2 separate regions of the Homo sapiens genome follow, and region 2 is linked to region 1. Evidence: promoter capture Hi-C in human tissues and cell types (Jung and others, 2019). All regions are on one chromosome and are shown on one strand. Each heading gives the region's core, a stretch centred on a gene start or on the middle of the fragment in contact. The rest is flanking DNA. Distances are from core to core; before and after follow the strand shown. Region 1 holds the start of ESRP1 (epithelial splicing regulatory protein 1). Region 2 overlaps DPY19L4 (dpy-19 like 4).

Region 1 (7,088 bases), core at 3,210-5,709:
TTAGTCTTCTTGAACAATATTGTAGCTGTACCTGTGAACTCAAATTAGACTTCAAACACAAACAAAAACAAACTCACAAATCCCAAAGGCAAAGGAGAAATGGTTACCTGCTGTTCTTAGCTATTAGGACCACTACCGTGGCTACGAAGCAAAGCTCAACTGTCTGGACAAATATTACACTATTGTTTCCTTTGTTTTTTTTTTTCTTAACAAAATAACCCAGCATTGGATAACTTTTAAAGATAATCCTTTTAAAAACTCAATTCAGATTTTTCTTAAAATTTTGAAATTGTGTTAATTTGCTGGGAATTTTTACCCATTTTTACATTAGAACATCAAGGAAATTAAGACTTTTAAATGTTAAATGTTCATGCAAAATATCTCCTCTCCAAGTTCCTTCTATTGGATTTTACTAGATGTGACCTGTTCATGCTGTATTTTGAAATCAGTATTGCTGCATCATGGTCACAGCTTTTAAAAAAGTTAACAACCAAAAGAACCATGAAACCTCCCTATTACCTACAAAAATGCTCATTTAAAAGCTATTTGTAAGGACAATAACTCACATGTTCAACAATAATCAGTTTAAATTGTTGTGTCCATTTAAAATACTGAGTATTTTATTTAGTGGTTATAACAATGTTGATGTTCTATTAAATAATGTAGGCTAAAAGGCTTACGCCGTATGAATGCTCTTTGTAAATAATGCTTGTCTACAGAAATCTAGAAGAATATATCCAAATACATTCATGTTAGAGAAAAACATTTTAATATATTGAGTGGCAGGATTATTTCATGTTTTGCCATTTTCCCTTTTCTTTAACGAATATACAGAATTACTTTCACTATAACATTAATTGTTTTAGTTTCTGTATTTAATCAAAATTCTAATAGCTGTGGCTGAGGAAAAAGTCTTAATTTTTCTCCAGATGTTTTCCTACACCCAAAGCACTCCACCTAAATAATGAAAACAGCTATTTTCCTCTGGCCCAACAGGGAAAAGATTAAGTCTTGTCCTTCCGTCATGTGAGTTTGGGAGTAAAAAAGTAATCCTTACATATTACTATTTCTGGTAAGGATGTAGCGACTAGTCTAGCATTTAATTTTTTAAAAAAATTCTTCCCCTTTTGTCAAATAATTACTAAGACTCGTATAAAAGGAATGATTTTCTGAAGACATAACAACTTGAGTTACTCCTTCAAACTTTTTGAATTGTCATAATATATTAAACGAAATAAAATCTGCACTTACTTGCCTGGGTCGTCATTTGTCAGTCTACATCTTTCATTGCAAGCCTTGCCTTATACAGGTACCTAAATATATTCTACTTCCATCTTTTCAAGCTCGGTGCCTGCCTACCACAATAAAAAGTTACAGCTCAAACTAATTTAAGTTGTTAAGAGACAGTGTATTAACAATGATTGGCTACACTGGGTGGGTTGTCTCTGCTGTTCCTTTTCCCACAGCCCCTCAGTATTTATCCCAGGGAGAGAAATCACATTTTACCTATAGTAAGACTGTATTTCTCTCACTCTGTAATCCTCTCTCTGTCAGAAAAATGAGCAAAGGTAAAAGATGAGGCTGACCCTTTTGTTTTGATGCAAGAATGTTTTGAACATTGACTTAAAATCAGACAAAGTGAAGAGTGCTACGATTGTGGTTTCACTAGATATAAGGTTATCTTATTTAAGTAGCCTTTTTAATGAAATGATTAGAAATACAACTTTAAATGTTTAATTCTTTTTTCCTTCCTTTCTAGGATATAGCATTTCCAACACAAATGAGGATATTATGACATACTAAAGAATAGTTCTTTCCTCTCTTTGTAGTTATTTTAAATGTCAAAAATTCACACTCTGTATTAGCTTCGGAAAAGGGAAGTGTCATGCATCTTGAAAATTGGACGTAAACAAAGAGACTATTTTAAGTCACCAAAGAGTATCTTTGTATATACATAACACCAAATTTACCATTTTAATAATTTTTAAGAGTATGGTTCAGTAAAACATTAAGTACATTAACATATTTTGCAACCATAAACACCATCCATTTCCAGAGCTTTTTCATCTTCCCAAACTGAAATTCTGTACTCATTAAATAACTCCCTATATGCATCTTTTTAAGAACAGAGAAACTTGAATAAACCAAAAATTTTTAAAAACCTCCAGTCACCCCAAAGCTCCAACCATTTTTTTCCCAGAAGCCAGCACTCTTACCTTCTTGGAAGCCTCAGGATGCAGGATTTGCCTGACATGAAGCTGCCCATCAGTACAGAGACAGAAGGAAGTCCCTACTCCAATATTCAGTTCATTGCTCACTGACTGGTTAAACTGCAAGAACAAGATACACATAGGGATGCAACTGATGCACGATTTACAAACTCTGCAAAGTAGCTCCCCTTGGTGATAGCCAGAGAAAACCGCAATAAGGGCCCTGATGGGTGACACCGGTGCTGGGGCAACCTTGGACAGACTCCTTTCCCACGAACCGTCTAGCTTCCTCGAGGTAGGGAAGCTTTCCAATCAATCCGCAGTTCGCGCCCAGGAGAAACTTGTCAATGCATTCTCCCTTCTGTTTTTACAAAAAAAATTCATTCAAGACTTAAGTCAGATGTCTCATTTCATCAGCAGGTTGCCTGCAGATTACATCATTCCCTAGTGTTACTTTTTATATGTTTGGATGTGCCAGGCTTAAGAAAGATGCCAGCTTCTAATAAACAAATACGGGTATTGGGTATACAGATCTGGAAAGTCTTGGATGAATACACCCCAGGAAGGATAGCTTTCTCCTATAACTCGAAGCTCGTGTGCTAGGGCAGAGGTCGTGAGAACGCAGAGCATTCATCTGTGCACAGGTGTTTAGCGCCCCGCCCTACCCGATCCGGCACCCGTCAGCACCCCGGAACAGCCGGTTTTTAGGTCACCTCAGTCCTAATAAGGGGATTCCATCAGTTCCGCAGTGACACAACGGGCAGCCTTGCACGTTCGGACCTGAAAAACCTCCCTGGCAGTGGGACCAAGGCCACTAAAGAAATAATGACGGACCGAGCCTTTCGTTGGGAGTTCAGAAGCCTGAAACCAGGCAGGCACCTTCAGGTTCCAACCCACAGTGCTACTTCTTGCACACCCGCCGGGCCCACCTGCACGTCTACGCCACAGCGCCCCCTGCCCGAAGGCTGTGGGCCCAAACCCCGCAGGGGAGCGGCGCGTCTGGGGTCTGGACCTGGAGATGGGGGCGCTAGGATTCAAACTCCGCACGTCAATCAATTGGCAAAATGGAGCTGACTCTCCGGCTCCAGTAACTACTCAGGAAGCAACTCGAAAACTAGTGAATGTCGGTCCCAAACCCTGGGGGCTGGGAGATGAAGAGAAGCAGCGACCCCCGCCCAAACGGTGCGCCCCGGCCCTCAGGCTGGGCTCCCACCCACGCGGCCGGGCAGGCGTCTCGCCACCCTGCTCCGGGAACACGCGTGGGCCGCCCTGAGAGGGCGTAGGGTGCGGTGGGGTTGGGCCCAGGCTGGGGTGGGTGGCGTGACCCGGGGTTGTCACCTGTCGGAGGGCTTGGTCCAGCTGCGACGCCGAGGACAGGCTTTCGACGTCTATTTTAGTTTCTTCTTTGCAGTCCTCCGTCAGTTCCAACTGATCCGGTCTAACTAGCACTTCGTGCAACTGTCCCACCTCCGAAGGTAGAGAAGCACGGGTCAGTTTCCCCCAATTTCGGAGCCTCTTTCTGCACCCTCCTCCCTCGCTCCCCTGCTGGGGCGGCCCGCGCCTCTCTTGGGGTCCGGACGCAGAATCAAAGCTCTCGACTCGCCATCGGTTCCGGTGCGTTCCTGCCCCCCGCCCCACCCCCCACCCGATAGGTCGGAAAAGCCCTGGAAGTGGACCCCGGGGCCTCCGAGACCCCACCTCGTCTCGGCGGAGCGTCCCCCGACGGGCAAAGAACCCGGCTCGGTAGCGCCGGCCTCTCCACCTGAGCTAAGTTGCGGAGGACTGAAATGGCTCCAAGGCAGTTGGCCAATAAGTTTGGTTTTACTCTAGCTTCCCTAGGCCTCGGGTCCAGACTCACAAGTGGGCAAACAAGAGCACTTATTTACTTACCTCCACCCCCCTCCCCGCCCAAACCTCTACCACAAACTTCTTGCCCCATTCCTTGCATTTAGACGAAAATGTGGAGAAATACCTTCTTGTTGGCCAGATCCACGACTTTCCAGAACAGCAGGATCAACTCCTTCTCATCCGAGCCTAGCTTGGCCCCGGTGGCCCCAGCAGTGATCCCAAAAAGCACCACCAAGTAATCCGGAGAGGCCGTCATGACGATAGGTGGGGAGGGGGAGAGGGGGGGTCGGGAGGCGGTAAGGTGGTGTGGAAGTGAGAACGAAAAAACCTGTGCTAAACCCTCTTCTAAGAGAAAAAGAAAGAGCGCCCACCCCCCTTCCTTGCTACTGCTAGTGCAAAAGGCGGTAACCAACCACCCAAGCCCACACCTGGTCGGTGCTCCACGCCCAGGGCAGGAAGGGGGGTGGGAAGGAGGGCGCAGGAGGCCTGCCCTTTTTGTATTCAGTTGCCCGGGCGTCTATGCAAAAAGCCTGGAGCAAGGCTGCCCCCCCCGGGAGGCACGCAATGGCTGAAAGCTTTTCTGTTTTGGGATGTGGCTTTACCTGCCCGCCCCTTCCCCCTCCCCCACGTGGTGCAGGTAAGAGACACCTGGCGGCGCCGGCCCATTGGCTCCTTCAAACCACGACGTGGCAGCGGTGGGGGAGGAGGCCGCTTCGGGAGGGGGAGGAAGGGGCGGGAGACAATGGCTGGATGAATGGAGAGGCGAGGGCAGGGGAGGAGGAGGGGGAGACGTGAGGGGCAGGGAAGAGGCGGTTGACACCCAGAGGGTAGACGAGGCCAGACGGGGAAAGGGCTCAGAGAGGTAAAGGGCTCGGAGTCGCTGGGGGGAGGGGTTCCCACTGGAGGTAACTGAGAGGTGCAGGGGGGCTCGGAGAATACCGGCTGCAGGGAACGAAGCCGAAGGTTCTGAACGGTCAAGCGAAAAGGCCAGGTGCAGGGAGGCGAAAGGAGGCCAGAGGTGAGGCCCGGGGCGCGGAGCTGCCCAGGGCGCGGCGCAGGCGGAGGACGAACTGCTGAGGGAGGGACCTGCCAACCGCAGCCAGGAGGTGGCGGGGGCAACTGCAGATCCCCGGAAAAGCAGCTCCTGAGCCAACACAACTTTCAGTGCAAACAGCAGGAGAAATCCTGCGAGCCCCCCCTTCTCCGGGCCGGAGCCCGGGTGCACGCTCGTCCCAAACCCGCCGCGCTGCCCACCTTCCGGAGAGGAACCCCGCGCGCGGCAGAGCCGGACGCCAGGGGCTGGACGCCCAACCACCTAGTCACTCCCCAGGACGCAGTTATCGCGCGCAAAGCAGCTGGGGGACCCCGCAAGGAAACTCAGGCACAATGGAGCCCGCTTCTTTTTCTGTCAACTCTGAATGCTATGTCTGGTTTGGTCCTGGCTGCTAGTTCGAAGCTGGAACATCCTCCAGAGCTGGGGCCCATTTCCTTTTATTTGCCTTGGGCCCCAAATGAAAAGCATCTATCCGCATGCCTAATAAAAATTTTCTTAAATCGGGCCACGCAGGCTTTTTCCCAGGTTCTGCGCCCTGACCCCATTCCCTCTGCTCATGCTTTTGGCATTGTATTGGAGTGTGTTGACTTGACCAAGCTCCCAAACAACCTCCCTGCTCCACCTCAGCTTGGTCTGCCCAGAGGCTCGTACCCCAACCATCACCCCCCAGCCACCAGATCGGTGGCAGTATGTTGTTGGGTCTTGTTGACATTTTAGAGAGAAAAGCGCCAGAGGTGAAGTTTTCTCGGGTTTTATATCTCAAAGCGATTTGTTCTTGGGAACAGAATTCTGTCTGAAGTATTAATAATTCGGCTCTAGGTGTCCAGCCCCGTTCATATTCATGATGTGAAACGGGCAACCATGCACCTATCCCTGCAGAACCCACTCCGGGTACAAATCCGGTAACCTTTCAAGACGCGTGTCAAGGGAAGCTGGAGACCTGGCTTTCCCAGTGGGGGTTCAGCTCCCGGGAGGGGGGAGAGGAGCCCGAGGCCCGCGCCGTCTCGTTTCCTGGTAGGAGAAGGTGCAGGCGGAGGCGGGGCCTCCCGTGATACAGGTGGCAGCTCTCGTCCCCTGAGAGCGGGCGAAGGCCAGGGTCCCACACTCGCAGCGCTGCGACGGCGCTCGGGACCTCCCTCGTCCACTGCTTGAGTTCCAGAGGTGGGTGCTTCCCTGTCCTGAACTTCAGAGTGCGGAGTCATAAATGGGTTCCGGCTGGCTTACTGCAGTAGCCTCGCTCCTCCCCAGCCCCGGTAACTCCGAGCTACCCGTCCAGGCCCTCGGGCGTCGCGGGGGCAGGGACTGGGCGCGGAACGAGGCAGGGAGGGACCTGGAAAAACCACCCAGATTGCATTGCAGTGGGCGAGGCCGCCTGGAGGAGCCGGTTCCCCCTAACCACCTCCCCGTGGGGCTCTCGGTGCGCGGTTCCCAGGTGCTCAGCTCTGCTGGGCCCAGGAGGTGCCGCCTCACAGGGACGCGGAACCCCGTGCGTGGCCCCCGCCGGGTGGAACAGATAGCGCGGGGCGGTCCGGAGGCTCGTCGCCAAGCAGGTGACTCTTGCTGAAAAAGTGGTTGGAACACTTGAGGAAACCCGGCCCCGCCTGTTCTTTCTAGGTCTTTGGAGTTTGGATTAATCATTTGTGTAGCCCGTTTGGATAAACCGAAGACTTTATTAAATCAGCGCGTTTAACAGGAATTCCGCAGTAGTATCCACATTAGAATCTTGAGTCTTGGAGTTGAACATATTCACACAGACTTGCCTTCTTCCTGTTTAGTTTATGCCTTGTGTTCCGTTATTGGAACGCTAAGCTTGTGGGAGTTGTTTACATCCTACTGCTCAAGGTCATCGCTAAGGTGTGATTTTTCACAAAAAGAATTTGCAACCTCCGGCATGAATGACTTAAGGGAAGTCTAATCCCGGTTTCTGATTTTTTTTTTTTTTTTAATTTAAAAGTTAATCTTTCTGGGCCGGGCGC
Region 2 (7,088 bases), core at 1,259-3,758, 150 kb before region 1:
CGGGTGAATTGTACGGTATATGAATTATATCTCAGCGAAGCTGTCACCAAAAAAGCTCATGTATAAATAAAATAACTTAAAATTCTGAAAATAGTTTTATTATGGAAACAAAATAAGGAGGGTAATTAAGCATGAAATAATTTCCTTCTTGATAAAAGTATATTGATTATTACAAAATTTGAAGTGTTAGTTTATAGCCCAAATCTTTCAAAGAATTTGTGTCTGCTGAAATGAACTTTGATCCTTTGCAAAGATGCAACTTTAGTTACAGGAGGAACATATTTAATCTAAATACACATTGTCACAGATAAGACTCAGAGGATAATATATATAAAGCTAACTATACTCATCTGTGTTAAATAGCTATACAAAGCTACTAACTTAAAATACGAAAGGGTTGTTTATGAGACATTTCAAACTATAAGTTTGGAATTCTTGTTCCTTTGTGATACCATTATTCTACTAAATACATATAGTGGTTAGAAGTCCAGTGTACCTCTTACAGAACAGCACATAGGATTAGATATGCCAAGATTAAAATGTTGCACATTTTAGGAAACTCAGAAATAATTCAAAGACGCCTTTATGCTAAACTCAGCAAATTTGGTTCCAAAATTTCCTTTATTATGAAAAAGTAAGTATAATGTTTAGACATTAATGTACAGAAAATAATTGTCATATATATTCCTTTATAATTTTCACACCTGTTTATTTTAAAGTGTTAATTCTACACATTAAAAAACATACTAATGAGATCCTGTTTGAATAGGAAATTGCTAAATTTTACTTGCAACTTTTTGTAGCTATAATTCTAATACACATTGGGATCTAAAACTATTAGTAAACAGCAACAATAGAGACTACGTATTTTTTAAATTGGGCAAATGAAAGAAGAATATATTGAGATGTAAATCAGGAAGTAGTTATTTGCGTTACAAATATGCAGATTAATTAATAACATACACCCTTTAAATACTAAAGCATTTAAAATAAGTTTAACAAAAAAGGCAATTTACACTTTTTAAAACCCCATCAGTTGTATAAAGAGAGGCACTACTTTTATCCACGAAAAGCATCAAAATTTTTTAACAGTTCAAAAATAGGGGCCCAAAACAACTGATTTATCAGAAACAAAACAATACAATGGCTATTCACAGTGTAAGAAATTAAATCTATTTTTTAAAGCATGTTTTTCAGTCTCAATTTATAACACACTTTGACTTCCATTTCTGCTTTTCCTTAAATCAATCTGGACTGTGTGGAAGAATGCCGTAACATGAAGCTATTAGCAATCTGGGTTAATGTTCTACAAAAAAAATATGCTGCCTATATACACAGAAAGTAAATGAAGAAAAAAGTTAGCACTGAAGTACAATGCATACTCCTTAGGTTCTTAAACTCTACCAGTCTAACAGAAAGCACCAAGATACAGATGCCAAAGTCAGAAAAAATACAAAGCAGCTCAGAATCAATATCATATATCTTATTCAAGGTAAATTTTATGTTAGATTCTTTGTCTGGCATTTGGGAGGCTAAATTAACTTAGGAGGCTAGAGATCCCATCTCTACTTTTTTTTTCTTTTTGAGATGGAGTCTTGCTCTGTTGCCCAGGCTGGAGTGCAGCGGCATGATCTCGGCTCACCGCAAGCTCCGCCTCGCCGCTTGACGCCATTCTCCTGCTTCAGCCTCGGAGTAGCTGGGACTACAGGCGCCCGCCACCCTGCCCGGCTAATTTTTTGTATTTTCAGTAGAGACGGGGTTTCACCGTGTTAGCCAAGATGGTCTCGATCTCCTGACCTCGTGATCTGCCTGCCTCAGCCTCCCAAAGTGCTGGGATTACAGGAGTGAGCCACTGCGCCTGGCCTCCATCTCTACTTTTAACAAAGACTTGCGCCGGGCGCAGTGGCTCACGTCTGTAATCCCAGCACTTTGGGAGGCTGGGGTGAGTGGATCATCTGAGGTCAGGAGTTCGAGACCAGCCTGGCCAACATGGCGAAACCCCGTTTCTACTAAAAATACAAAAATTAGCCGTGCTTGGTGGCAGGTGCCTGTAATCCCAGCTACTCCGGAGGCTGAGGCAGGAGAATCACTTGAACCTGGGAGGCGGAGGTTGCAGCGAGCGGAGGTTGCAGTGAGCCAAGATCGCGCCATTGCACTCCAGCCTGGGAGACAAGAGTGAAACTCCATCTCAAAAAAATAAAAAATAATAATAATAATAAATTCAAGGCACTTGTATCAGTGGGTTTGCAGTATCAAGGGCAAAGAACATTTTTTATTTCTTTGAGAAATTCCTTCCACCCAAAACCCATAAATTCTTCTCCTCTCATAGTAGATCTTTATTGTCAAACCTAACAACTGTAAGTTACCTAAGTGGAATTACTTGTAGAATTGTGAATCATTTGTTCACTCTACAAATAAGTGAAGAAATAAACTAAATGCTTTCCACTTAAAGTTGTCTAGTACTATTAACTGCAGTTAAAACAGAAGCAAATAAACTTATCTGTCATATTCAATATTGTCATTTCCATAATGAAGCTTTCTTTTCCTTTTCAACTGATGCTGGATGAAAAATTCATTATTTAAAACATCCCATTAACAATTTTTCCAGATCAATTTTATTTAAAAAATAAGTTGACAGAAAGAAGCAAAAGCAACTTACTAATATGTCAAACAAAACACAAGTACCAAACCTAATTCAGCACAGGTAACATAATATAAATCAACAAAAATTCGATTAAATATTTCACACTAGATAAAAAGTAGGGTGTTCTATTTCCCCTACAAAATATGGAAGCTGACTTTTCAATTACATTGTTTTACATGCTCTAATCACAAGTACTACCATGTGACTATTCACTGTGTGCTTAGGTAACTATGGTTATATTTTCAGAAGGCTTGAAGCAAAATACTAGTGACTCACTATTCAGATGTACAGAGTCAACCTGAGGTACACTGCCTGCAACTATCTTAATATAGTTAAGAAATTACGTATAAAAGTGAAATGAGAACCACTGAAACTAATCTATCAGATATATGACATCACCATCAAACAATTCTTCAGCTCCAAAAGAGCAAAGCATCTGAGAGTTAGTCTAAGAATGCATGTACTTTAACAACACATGTATAACAGAAAATAAAGACAACGGAAAAGCTCCCTTCTAATGTAGTGTACTTTTACAACACATATATAACAGAAAATAAAGACAATGGAGAAATGCTCTCTTCTAATGTAGTAATTTAGAGTACTGAAAATGCAATTTTTGCAGCACTTTAACAAGTGAGAATTATGAAAATCTGTTCACTGAACAGGAATATAAGGAAAAACTAAACATGTATCCCAACTTATTAAAATGACACATCTATAGGCTACATCTATCCTGAATCTCTCTATAAGGCCAAATTAACTTTTCACAATTTTCTCTTAATAAATGATTAAAAATATGAAAATACTTAAAGGAACATAGCATTTAGACTGTGAAACTGTGTTGTAAATTTTATTATAGTTGTCATTTTTTCTTGATGTTGAAGACTGCATCACAGTTTCATAAATAACATTGCTTGTGTTTTATAATATATCTGTATGCAGAGGTACGTTTAACAACATCTGCATGTATCCCCAGAAATTGTTGCTAATTTTAGAACACATATTTTTATTCTGATAATGATTTAATTTTTTTACTTAGTACTTCAGTAGAAAACATGTGAATAGATTGTATGCCCCATATCAGTATTTAAAAAAAAAACCTGAACAACATTCTTTTAAATGTCCATTTAACAAAATATATGTTAACGGTTATTGTTTTATCATGATTAAATTGGTATCAAATTAATAGGCATAAGTGAAAAAACTAATCACTTACTAGTCATTTAGAAAATGCAGTAACATCATGCATTATGTATTACTAAGAAAGTTCTCACTTAACATAAGCAGTAGATGAGGAGAACAGTATCATGAAAATTCTAAATATATCTTTATGTATATCCTTAAAAATCACTTTCCTTTATATAATTTCCATTTTAATTTAAATGCCACATATCTTCAGCTAACATTTAAATTAGTTTTTATTGTAAAACTTCAGTTGTTATACATCATAAAATACCTTCAGAAACTTGCTTGAAGGTCGGAATTATTCTTTCTATTAAATAATTATATCACATTATTTATTAAATGTTATGTTTGAGAAATGTATCTGACCTTGCACATATTCAAATTCAAGATCAATATTATAATAGAATGAAGATTTTATGGGGAAAATATTGCAATCAGTAAAAGTGTTAAAGACCATGTAACGGTAAGGAAGACACCTGTCTGGAATATTGCAGAGTGGTAGATATCACATTTAATCAAAGGACAGTAATGCTTGATCTTCTATTTCCCACAGAACTCTGGATCCAGTTAACAGCAGAAGGGGGAAAGAAGCAGCAATATTTCAAATGTCCATACTCTGATCTGCAAAAGACACCGAGTAGGTAGAAGAAAACTGCATTTTACTTCAGGTAGTCTTTGAAATGAAGGCTCTGTTATTTTTCAAGACTGGAAGGATATCACAGTGTTGATTTTATATACAAAGTAGGATCTGTTCCAGTATACTCTAGTGAAATAATTCACATATGGAGAATAGTTAATTTTGACCTCATGACAAAATCGCCCATATTTTGAGTAGGTTAGCTTGTCACCTTCTTCACAAACCATCTATTAAAAGATATAAAACATAATATTAAAAAGCTTATTAAGCTTATAGCAGAAATGCAATCAATATACAAATGAGTATATTTATATGAAAAAACACATTATTGCTAAACATTGTCTATAAAACATCTCACTGTTAGCAAATAGAAGCCTTCTTCATAAGTGAGTCACCATGCCCACTATACTCCTGAACTTCTCATTGACACTGAGAAACCAGCACAAAGGTTTCCAATTTTTAAAAGATTTAATCCTAAAATTTAGAAGGCAGTGTTTCCATAATCCATTATCATCGCTCCGAAGACCTTATCATGCACCCTACCAAGGCTGAGAAATGAACATATTATATTCCTAAATATATTCACTCTTCTCGTGTAGAATTATTTAGTAAGCAAGGAAACTTTCGTGACTTAGTGCAGACCTTTACAATTTCACCGAATGATGTTCACTAAGATAGCTTAGTTAGCTTGAAGAAGTTTTTATAAAAAAAATTAAGTAATATTTTAATGGCTATGAAAGATGTCAGATAGCCAACTTTAAAAGGATGGATTAGCTTAAGTCCATGCCAGGCATGACATGAAAGGAGAAGTAAGCTGATCTTCAAAACAGCAGAAAAGTGGGTATCAGAGCAGAATAGAAAGGCTTCAGAGAGCAGATAGCAAGACAGCACCAATTACTGAAACTGTACCCGAGGCTTCATAAAATTCCATTTGTGTCACCAGTAAACCAAAGATCACAGCCACTAAGTACCAACAGAGAAATTCAAAATACATGTACCATAAAACAGAGTAAGTTTATATTACAAGATTAAGGGGTCATGAGGAAAAGATAAGTAGAAATCACAAAAAGTAATTTCTTACCTCCAAACTGATCTTGGATAAGACAAAGAGCTATGATTATTTAGGAAAAGACAGAAAAAATCTTGGCTGCAACCTGAATAGTATATCTACTACCACTTACAATGACTTACTAAACTTTTCTTATGATCCCTCACTCCCAGCTTTCTCAGGAGTCAAGAATCCATTCCAGCTAGCATTAAGTCTCAGATATACACACTGCCTTCATTGGAAGGCCATGGGGGCTGGGGGGGAAGACACATGCGCGCGCGCGTGCGTCAGTCTTAGGTGGTCTTCTTGTGGAAAACACAGCTTGGTAAAACAGCCGAAATCAATATAGAAATTAAGATACAGCCAAGTCCTAACAACTAACATGGCTTTTAATACATTCGTTTTTGTGGATAATAGGGACTCAATGTACAGGCACTGTGTTAATTTAGCATGCAATTTTTCTAGATATGAATCAAATTACAAGAAATTTCTCAACATAAGAATATAACAAGGTAACCAGTTGCTCTTTAGATTATTATAATAAAATAAAATCATCATTCAAATCAAATTATGCCATCTTTTGTTTATGAATGTTGAAACCTGAATAAGTACAGGCAATGAATAAGGAATTCCAGTATTGGTAATACCATTATTATTTTTTATTATTTTTGCAAAAATGCCCAGATTTTCTTTTGTATGTTGAAAAAATACTCCAAACTACTTTTAAGAAGCTTTCCCCATTATTACATAACTCAATTATATTCTTAGTTAAGTTCTAAAAATAAAGTTTAAAGATTATAAGTTTAAAGTCATTTTTCTAAAAAAAAAATATATATATATACATATATATAACTTTCCAAATGGTTACTTACGTGGCCATTTGCAATGTCTAATAAATCTTTAACCCTACAGCCTCTCATGGGTCCCACCTCATTGCAGATAGCATCCTCTACAATTAGGTAATTAGCTTTGTAAGATGTCAGTATTTTATAAATATCCTCAGCAGATCGCTTTGAATAGATTTGGTAGATCTGAAAGAATATAATTAAAATAAAACTGAAAGAATATAATTAAAATAAAATTTAAAGGACATTTAAAACTTCAGTAAATTGAAACTATACATCAAGCATCTACTGTGTTCTAAGTACGATTATATATGAAAAATATATTTATTTTTATAAATAAATGTAAATATTCATCTATATATCAAAACTCATGTTTGGATTATGTGGTGCTTTTTACTATAATTTTTCTGAACTTATTAGATAATAAGCTCTGGATCTTATTAGATAATAAAGCTTTTCAGTCTTTCTGAAATGTTAATATTGGATCAACTCTTGATATCCTTCAAAAAGTAGTAAAACCACAAATATTAGGCCCATAGTATCATATACTATTTGTCCTGAAAATACTGAGATTTGAAATCTAGAATGAATAAGATTCCAATCTATTTGCAGAATATCCAGTAGCTGCCTCCTACCTGTCACCATAGCTGCCTATCTAGTACCTTCAGTTCCCACGTCCACTGACATGCTAGGAATACCCACCTTCAACATTCTGTGGCACACAGAATG

The links. Contacts are between HindIII fragments. The study calls those that stand out against the background at their distance.
Region 2: a fragment that was not itself captured here is called in contact with the fragment with the promoter of ESRP1 in region 1 in 1 of the 25 tissues and cell types used here (small bowel).

The regions. Positions count from the first base shown.
Region 1 is chr8:94,638,545-94,645,632 of GRCh38, reverse strand. It overlaps ESRP1 (epithelial splicing regulatory protein 1), which reads right to left and starts at 4,459. Exons shown (of 16, transcript NM_017697.4): 1 at 4,183-4,459; 2 at 3,549-3,677; 3 at 2,217-2,330. The coding sequence starts at 4,314. It overlaps LINC02894 (long intergenic non-protein coding RNA 2894), which reads left to right and starts at 6,166. Exons shown (of 1, transcript NR_034034.1): 1 at 6,166-7,088. RefSeq lists an enhancer at 3,032-3,121. The HindIII fragment of the contact is 5,400 bases long and covers 378-5,777 here.
Region 2 is chr8:94,787,351-94,794,438 of GRCh38, reverse strand. It overlaps DPY19L4 (dpy-19 like 4), which reads right to left. Exons shown (of 19, transcript NM_181787.3): 18 at 6,387-6,545; 19 at 603-4,693. The coding sequence ends at 4,529. Among named protein-coding and RNA genes, the nearest start is that of INTS8, 32 kb to the left of the region's middle. The HindIII fragment of the contact is 8,042 bases long and covers 1-6,529 here.